3 separate regions of the Homo sapiens genome follow, and all the other regions are linked to region 2. Evidence: promoter capture Hi-C in 16 types of primary human blood cells and fetal thymus (Javierre and others, 2016). All regions are on one chromosome and are shown on one strand. The core of a region is centred on a gene start or on the middle of the fragment in contact, and the rest is flanking DNA. Distances in the headings are between cores, read along the strand shown. Region 1 overlaps LOC124902020 (a long non-coding RNA gene). Region 2 holds the start of PVT1 (Pvt1 oncogene). Region 3 has its middle 120 kb from the start of MIR1208.

Region 1 (2,847 bases), core at 201-2,700, 390 kb before region 2:
AACCAGTATCTTTCTCTCTTTTCATTTAAGTATCTTGAAATCTTGTTGTTTTCCTATATGCTTAAAAAGATAACTAGCAGTTTTAATTATATAAATTCAGATATTAAACAACAAGGGTCCTATGAACCTTTGTTGTCAGGGGAGTTTCACAAAAGCAGCAATACCTGAACTTCCCACTGAATATTAGGTTTGAACAAGTGAAATCTAGATAGGCGGGCACACCCAGAAGAGGACCACCAAAGCAAAGGCACAGACACAAGAGGAGATTGGTCCACCTGGAGTTGAGAGTTCATAATACCATGTAGGGAGAGAAAGAATTAAAAAGCATGTTGAGCCAGGGCCAGCAGCATACACCTATAGTTCCAACTAACCAGGAGGCTGAAGCAGGAAGATCCCTTGAACCTACAGGTTAAAATCTATCCTGGGTAACATTGCAAGACCCTATTTCTTAAAAGAAAGAAAAAAAAGGAAAAAGTAGGTTAAAGGTATCAAAGCAGGTTGAAATAAGTAAATGCAGAGGATTCTGAATCATAGGCAATGGGCCTTGACATTTATATGACAAGTGATGGGAATCTGAAGAAGATATTTGAACTCATTAATATGTCTAATGCCTAATAGAATGTTCAGGCTCTACCAGGTATGTTTGCTAAGTGAGCGAATGAATGAATGAATGCTGTGTATAGGATGTGCTAGCATGGAAAGAGTTAAGAGTGTATTGCAATGGCAGTCTGGATGATATAAGATGGTATTGGTAGCTGTAGAAAAGTTATGAAAAATTTGGAAGCAATGAAAAAGACACTATAAAAGGGAAAAAAGATTCTATTCCACCATTTTTTCCTGAGTGGTAATTTACATGAAAACAGTAGGAAAAAATTCTTCTAATAACCTCTAAATTCAAGAACTCATAACTCTACCAGTGGAGCTCAAGATGCTTATACATCTCTCTGGCAGTCAAAGAGCTAGTCAGGGGAAGAAAATGAGAAGCATATTTTTAAAAGCAGAAAGCAAAAATATTAAAATGCATGTTAAGCTTTGGAGGCAATATTTAACTTTTTCTCTAACTAGGTAATTGAAGCTCAATTTACTAATGGTCAATGGAGAAATGCAGGTCTTATTATTCCTGGTTTGCGATGGGAATACTGAGGGTCAAAGAAGCCCAACATTTCACAATGACTTGATTCCAGGTACATTTATTCTAAGACCTGTATTTTGTTTTGTATTATCACATGTCACAGAAGACTTGAGGAAGAAAAGAGAAAAAAAGATGAGAAAGATTCAATTCTAGGAAGTCTCCTTAGTAGATGTCTCAGGAAATACATGATGGGACTGTATTATACTGAGGACCCATAGTTGAGCATATATAAAACTTTTCTCTCTGCACAGGTGTAGCACTCTTCTGTTTACCTAGGAGAATTTGCAGTGAATGATAATCCATTTTCTCTCCCAAGAGTTGGTAAACTGATTTTGTTTGTTTGTTACTTTTGAAATGCACAGACTGCATATATGTAGTTGGTGCTTTTTTACAAGGCTCTGTTGGGTCAATAAAGACGCTCCTTTTCCATTTCTCCTCCCTGCGTCTTACAGCCATCACATTCCAGCAGACACTAGGGAGCTCTCACCCAAGCCAATAAGCCGCAGAATTACCTAAAGCTACAATCATTCCCATCAAATAAGATCTTGCAGTTTGGAACAAGTCCCATAGCTTCAGCAATTTGGCTTCTTGGCCAGAGCCAAAAATGCTGATTTCCCCTCCCTGGAAGGTTTAGAAACCTGGGATGCACCATGGATGGGGTGCTCCTTGTGTTCTCTGCATCCTTCTTCATGACACAGGATCTGCTGAAGAGATGACTGAGGCTTCATAAAAGCTTTATGAGACACAGTGGAACAGAAAGGCTTTGAGCCACCATCACCTTTGTAAAGTCCAGCTGCTGCCATCAGCTCTGCAATAAAAGCTGAACAGAAAGGTTGGCCACATCCCACAAGTAATGCTTCTTTATTGTGATTCATTCAGAAACACCGAGTTCCACTGAGAAGCTGGGGATAGTCCAGAGGCAGCCTCAACCAAAACTAGCTACTTCTTTGAAATTATCATCCGAGAAATGTGCTTGAGTTTTAAGCCCCAACGGCTGGTTGCATCCCACTGGTCACTCCTGAGGTTAATATCCCTGCGCCTGTAGCACTGACTGCCTTTTCTCGAGTCCCCTGCTAACCCACCATCCAGTCTTACTTCCCTACAAAAAAAAAAAAAAAAAAAAAAAAGGCTTCTTTTTAAAAGCAAAAACCCAGAATTAATATGATGCATAAAAACTATTATAGCCGAAAGTGATGACTCACACTTGTAATCCCAGCACTTTGGGAGGCCGAGGCAGGTGGATCACCTGAGGTCAGGAGTTCCAGACAAGCCTGGCCAACATGGTGAAACCCCATCTCTATCAAAAATACAAAAATTAGCTGGGTATGGTGGCAGGTGCCTGTAATCCTAGGTATTTAGGAGTCTGAGGCAGGAGAATCGCTTGAACCTGGGATGAGGAGGTTGCAGTGAGCTGAGATCATGCCATTGCACTCCAGCCTGGGCAATAAGAGCAAAACTCCATCAAAACAAACAAACAAACAAAAAAACACACAAAAATCAAAACAAAACAAAAAACTATTATAGACTAGATTGGCCAGACAGAATGCAGCAACACAGTGGTGCTCATTGAAGGATCATGGTCATGCCAGGATTTTGCTCTCATTCCTATAAGCAGCAAAAGTTCCAGAGACATCATTCTTCTTTTTAGCCCAAGTTCACCGTACAAAAGTTTTCCTTTCTTATGTTTACCTAGAAGTTAAAAAAAAAAAGGGAAG
Region 2 (3,039 bases), core at 444-2,943:
AGAAGCCGTTTATGCAAAAATTCTGCACTCAAGATAGATGAGGCAACAAGAATAAGCCACTCTTAACCAGGCAAAACAGCAACACAACCACTTAACAAATCCCTCTGGGAATTCAATGGGTACAGCATATACCCCACAGTCATACCCGTAAGTGGAATTCCAGTTGGGCCCTTGTGCCGAAGCTTTAGACCACGAGGCACGTCCTCACCTCCAAGATGTAACTCATCTCAAATAATGGAGACCAGGCCACGAGGTTTCTCCCAGACACGGATTCTGTATTTGTCCTTCTGCAGCTTCCGGGAAGGTTTTTCTCCTAATAAATCCTGTAGAAAGTTCCACTCAGGGTTCTGAGGATTGATACAACCCCCTTCTTGACTGATCAGAGCTTTAGAAAGATTCGCTATGACCACAGGACTGTGTCAAGTTGAACAAGTCTCAACTTGTCGCTGCCAGTATGCAAAATAGGTCTGAAACATCTTATAACAGACAACACAGCAGACACAGTCCCTGCATCCTCAGGGCCCCCGCCCACCCACCACACACAAACACATTTCTCTAGAGTTTTTTTTTCCTAGCAAGGAACTAGCCCCAGTAGCCAGGATTCACAGTGGTGGAGTGGGCGAGAGACAGGCTAACAGCCTCTCTCTGGAAAACCTAATACCAGAAAGGAAACACCAAAACCTCATCCTCTTGTCCCTAAATCCTTGCACGTGATTTCTTCTCCTCTCTAATGTTCTAGAAGGGCCTAAAGTCAGGAGCTTAGATGAACAGAAGAATCTTCCATGCCTGCAAACCACCAGGAAAAGGCATGAGGCATCCACACACAGACGCATGCAGCTTCATGGCTGTGCTTCCTGAAAGTCTACACCCAGAACCACAAACACTGGCATAAATAAGAGCACGTTAGCAAGAGAAGGCAAACCTAATTAAATCAACAGCCCAGCCAAGAAGAATGACCATGATGAGGGTTTAGGAGCACCCAACAAACCCTCACATGCGATGCAAAAACTGAGAAAGTCTCAAAACACGGAGTTACTGAGTTTTTGGAAATCACCTTCGCCCAGCCCTGAGGGGGTGTGAGAGGAAGCGGGGAGTGATGGTCAAAGGATGGAGGGAGGATCACACATTCACAGACCTCTAGTTTCGCCAGAGGGGCCTCCAAACCACATCATGGCTCCAAATCTGTTCTGACTGCAGAGGGGTCTATTTTTAGAAATTAGTTAATATGCCTTTGATCAAGTTCATAAATCCAGAATTGCCTCTATGCACCGGCCATTCGGTGTCATCCCCCTCCCCTCACCCTCCCCAAACGCCCAAACTCGCCACCAGTCTTGAGGCTGGTGATGAGGACAGTGCACGCCTAGCACACACATATTGGATTCCGAAAGCCCCTTTCCTCCGTCCGACTACTCACAGCGCATCCCTACTCAGGGCCAAGTCTCGAGAGTTTCCAGAAACGCAGGGGACAAAATTGGAACTTACTGGAGGGCAGATCTGGCCGTGTCTCCACAGGTCACAGGGACCGCCAACATCCTTTCCGCAAGGAAATCCACTGGAAGGTGCCGGGGGTCCCGGGGCACATCTTTGCTCGCAGCTCGTCGTCGCCCCTCCTCGTCCCGGCCGCCCCGAGCCCGCCCGGCCCGCGGGCCCATGTGCTCGGCCGCCACACGCGCTCTGCCCGGAGGAGCGCGGGGCTGGCGGGTTGCCCGTGACGTCACGGCGGCTCGCGCTCGGGCCTCGGGGGAGGGGGGAGGCGCGCGCGGCCCGGCCCGCCGCGTGCGTCCTCGGTCCCGGCGCTCCCGGCCTTCCCCAGGTCCCCGCCCGCCGCCCGGTGCGCCCCTCAGCCTGCTTCCCGGCAGCGCAGGGCACTGAGCCGGAGAGGGCCGCGCGCGGAGGCGGGGCGGGCTTGGGCGACTGCGGCCGCCAAGGGCCCAGACTGGGGGAGCGGAGGGTAGGCTCTGCCCTGGGCTGGGGGTCCTCGCTACAAGCGCGCCGGAGTCCCACCGGGCCGGAGGGAATCCCCGGTGATGCCAGCTCGCTTGTGCGCCGAGCTTTCCACGGTCTTTCCCTGAGCCCTCTTACCCTTCCCCACACCGTCCTGGAAGCAAGCGGTCTTCCCACTTTCCTGCTGAGGAAGGCGAGTTCAGTGAAATAGGAGGGCCAGAGATGCTCCGGGATAGGTGCAGTTCCCGCAGAAGACCGCCGACTGAGCTCCAGCTCCAGTGATCTGAGCGCCTCTTTGGGTACCACCCAGCATCCGCCGGCCTGGTGAGAAGGGCGCGCGCACCTTCTCGCCTCCTTCGACGTCTCCCGCTGTTTCCAGAAGCCGAGTTGCAAACCCGTGCAGAGGGCCAGCGGTCTGCGCAGCTCCCTCCACTCCGGGCAGAGTTGACCTACAGAGTGTGTTCAACGAGTCCCTTAAATGCCCAGTAGTTCCTCCAAAGGAGCAAGTGGACACTGGCCTCCCATGTGGGATGTGGTTATCTTGTTCTATCTGCATAAACCCGAGACTGGACAGATGTAAGAGCTGCCCCTGTTCAGTTCAAAGTTTATTTTATTTATTTATTTATTTATTTATTTATTTATTTATTTAGAGATGAAGTTTCACTCTGTCACCCAGGCTGGAGTGCAGTGGCCCGATCATGGCTCACTGCAACCTCCGCCTGCCTGGTTCAAGCGATTCTCCTGCCTCAGCCTCCGGAGTAGCTGGGATCACAGGCGCGCGCCACCACGCCCAGCTAATTTTTGTAATTTTAGCAGAGACAAGGTTTCACCATGTTGGCCAGGCTGGTCTCGAACTCCGAACCTGAGATGATCCACTCGCTTCGGCCTCCCAAATTGCTGGGATTACAGGCGTGAGCCACCACGCCAGCGCCCGTCCAGTTCAACGTCTACTGAGCACTTAAGGGGAGTCAGGCACCCAGCTAGGCAATGGGGTGGGGGTTACTCATGGACCCTAGAAGGACGTCACAAACCAGCAAAAATTGGACACACAAATGGGTGGTATCAATATTACGGAACAGAAGGTTGCCCCTCTTC
Region 3 (2,917 bases), core at 242-2,741, 480 kb before region 2:
AAGTTACACATATGCTCTGCCTTAGGGTGTTCATAGCAACTCTCTTGTAAAGATAAGCAGCTAACGTCATCCTCTGTGGGCCAGAGAGGGAAAATGGGCTCACTCAGAACTACACAGCTAATCACTGGCAGAGCAGGAAGGAGCCCAAGGGCTGTCTTTATGTCACCTGCACTTCAATTTCAAATTCTTCTCCTATCACAGAGACTTTTGATTTGTGTTGATGAGGTCTGCCTCTCCACATTCTGTGAAAATAACAACATCTCCCATCTCCCCTCCCGTAAGTCCACACTAACTCAGAAGAAATTTGTTAAGCCTCTATTATATGCCATACACTGTTCCCAGGGTCTATGGAATGTCTTCCAGCAGTTTGTCCTCAAGAAGCTTCCAATCAATTGAAAAAGATAAGCACCAACCATCTGGAATAACTGCTTCTCTGAATCTAAGATTTGGAAGGGAATGGCCACCACTAGAATTTGGGATTTGTGAAACGTCAACGATTCCTCTCATCTCTACTCCTACCCCTATGTCCTCAGAATGTTCTCCTTTGTCTCAAGGTATAAGATTCCCTTGTTCAGATGCCTAGAAATTCTTTATGCTTATTTCAAATTAGATGCTTTTTTTTTTCTACTTTAAATCAGTATTGCACTGATTTAAAGCCCAGGCTTTGGGGTCAGATAGATGTGCACCTAGTTCCCATATTAGCACGAGCTTGTATATTTTACTTACCTTTGAAGAAACTAGAACTCCTGTAAAGTAAAGATGACAGATTTTTGATGGAGGATTTGAAGGAAAAAACATATATAAAGTACTTACCACAAAACTAGGCATGTGGTAGTTCTCCATAAGTAGCAGCTATTGTTAATGATTATATCATTTATATTATTATTGCTATTATTACAAAACCATGTTACTTAAGTAAACATTGTGTTAAATCTGAACGCAGAGTTTGGCAATGTTGTTACTAATATCTCTTCTGTAAATAATATTAGTGCAATTAACTGGTTATCTAGTGTAATAGACCTGAGGTCCTTGCAAATAATACAGTTATTCATAGTGCAGCTGCATAGATTAATTAAAAATTTTAAAAATATTTGTCCTTTTTTTCCTGAAGTTGCAACAGCTCAGTTTGGAAGCACTGGTCATTTCATAACCATCAGCCATAAGAAGGGGTTTGCTCCAAAGAACAGACTTATTGGAGTCAAACAGAATATTAATCCCAGCTCTGTTTCTTAGTATCAGTGTGATTGTGAGGAGTTCAGCTCCACCAGGACTCTGCTTCCTCATTTGTAAAATGGAGATGGTAATATCAACCTCCATGGGTTATTGAAGAGTCAGTGAAATAATATGTATAACAACCACTGCACTATGCAAATGCTAGTAAAATACTAGCTATTTCGCTATTCTTAAAAGATTGATTTCTGTAGTTAATATGAAACTGGAAAAAATTTTTATTATTTTATAAATATAATTATTTGGTAGATAGACTCTAAAAATAGAAGGTTCCTGATGGAATAAAATAGTGGAAGGGATGCTTGGTTTAAAAGGGTGGAAGGGAGTGTATCATAATTATTAAATACCCACTGTATGCATCCAAATAGCATACAAATACCATATTAATATTAATAGTATGTGTTATAGATCCAGACAGATCTGGATTCAAATCCTAGTTCTATTGCTTCTTAGCTGTGAGGCATTGGACAAGCTACTAAATACCTCTGGGCCTCTGCTTCCTGATCTACAGGTGCAATAACAAATATTACCTCCCTCACTGGGTTTTGATGAAGATTATGTACATGGAAGTACTTATCACAGTATCTGAGAAATATCAGGCATGTTACAAACATTCACTTTATTTTAACTATTATAATATACCAAAAAGAAAAGACAGCTTGGTCAGTGTTCTCTAGGTCAGTGCTTTAGAGAGAATAATACACTTATTTCAGGCAGAGCAGCAGTTTCAAGAGTAACATCTGAAGGTGCTGTGCCAGCTGAGAGAAGCAAGGTCTGGAACTGAAGCCCTGAGTGCTTGTAAATCAGAGAACCGTAGCAAGCAGAGGAGAACCAAGGCTAGCAGCAACCTGAAGGTGGCAGGGTGCTACACTGCCTGAAATATTAACACACATAGGGTGATCATACCTCCCAGTCTGCCCAGGTGTTACAGTATCTACTGATATGTAGCAATTCGCTCCAAATTTAGCCGCTTAACATTTTGTTCCTGTATCTGCAATTTCAACAGGACTCTGGAGGGAGAAAGAAAGAGAGAGGGGGAGGGAGAACAGCAGAGAGGAAGAGAAGAAGAAGTAAAAGGAAAGAAGGAAGAAAGAAAGGAGGGAGAAGAGAATGGATTAATAGATAGACCGACAGATAGATAATTGAAAATTACAGGATGGCAGAATTTGCTTGGACTGAAGAAAGAGATTGCAGAGAAAACCTCACCATCCCTGGTATGCTCCAAGGGAAAGGAGATTTATGTAGAGACTGAAGGTTGCCCCAGTGAACTCTGACATCCCTCTTAGCTCTCAGATTCTGTGACCCTCTTTAAGGAGCAGGCATGGTGGTGATTAACATTCCCTTTTCCCAAGATGAGTGGTGCAAGCTTTCATCTTGCAATGTTTATAAATGCCTTGAAAATGGAATGTGCCACATACACACTAAGAGCTATTATTAATATGGTGTCCAAACACCTCTCTCCACATGATAGTTAAACAACAAAGCATTAGGATGCGAGAACTTCCATAGTATGTGTGTGTGCACACACCCCAATTAAGGAATGTTCTTTATTCTCTCTCTGCCTTGGGAGAGATGGGAATACCTCACAGAGACCAGAGATGAGGCAGAATTGGGGACATGCAAGGGCCTATATAGATAATTGGGTGACAAGAGCATAATTAAGCAAACCACTTTTTATGGAGCTCCT

Evidence for each region. Contacts are between HindIII fragments. The CHiCAGO score rates a contact against its expected background, and 5 or more counts as called.
Region 1: a fragment that was not itself captured here is called in contact with the fragment with the promoter of PVT1 in region 2 in 2 of 17 cell types (total B cells and naive B cells); the score reaches 6.5 in total B cells.
Region 3: a fragment that was not itself captured here is called in contact with the fragment with the promoter of PVT1 in region 2 in 1 of 17 cell types (total B cells); the score reaches 6.1 in total B cells.

The regions. Positions count from the first base shown.
Region 1 is chr8:128,186,530-128,189,376 of GRCh38, reverse strand. It overlaps LOC124902020 (a long non-coding RNA gene), which reads right to left. Exons shown (of 5, transcript XR_007061107.1): 5 at 2,615-2,821. Among named protein-coding and RNA genes, the nearest start is that of MIR1208, 38 kb to the right of the region's middle. The HindIII fragment of the contact is 835 bases long and covers 1,033-1,867 here.
Region 2 is chr8:127,793,178-127,796,216 of GRCh38, reverse strand. It overlaps PVT1 (Pvt1 oncogene), which reads right to left and starts at 1,693. Exons shown (of 9, transcript NR_190187.1): 1 at 1,483-1,693. MIR1204 (microRNA 1204) reads right to left here and starts at 255; the gene lies at 189-255. RefSeq lists enhancers at 218-557, 658-707, 429-1,000, 1,001-1,570, 2,713-3,039 and silencers at 1,688-1,847, 1,858-1,917, 1,938-1,987. The HindIII fragment of the contact is 6,547 bases long and covers 185-3,039 here.
Region 3 is chr8:128,268,847-128,271,763 of GRCh38, reverse strand. No RefSeq gene overlaps it. Among named protein-coding and RNA genes, the nearest start is that of MIR1208, 120 kb to the right of the region's middle. The HindIII fragment of the contact is 2,215 bases long and covers 384-2,598 here.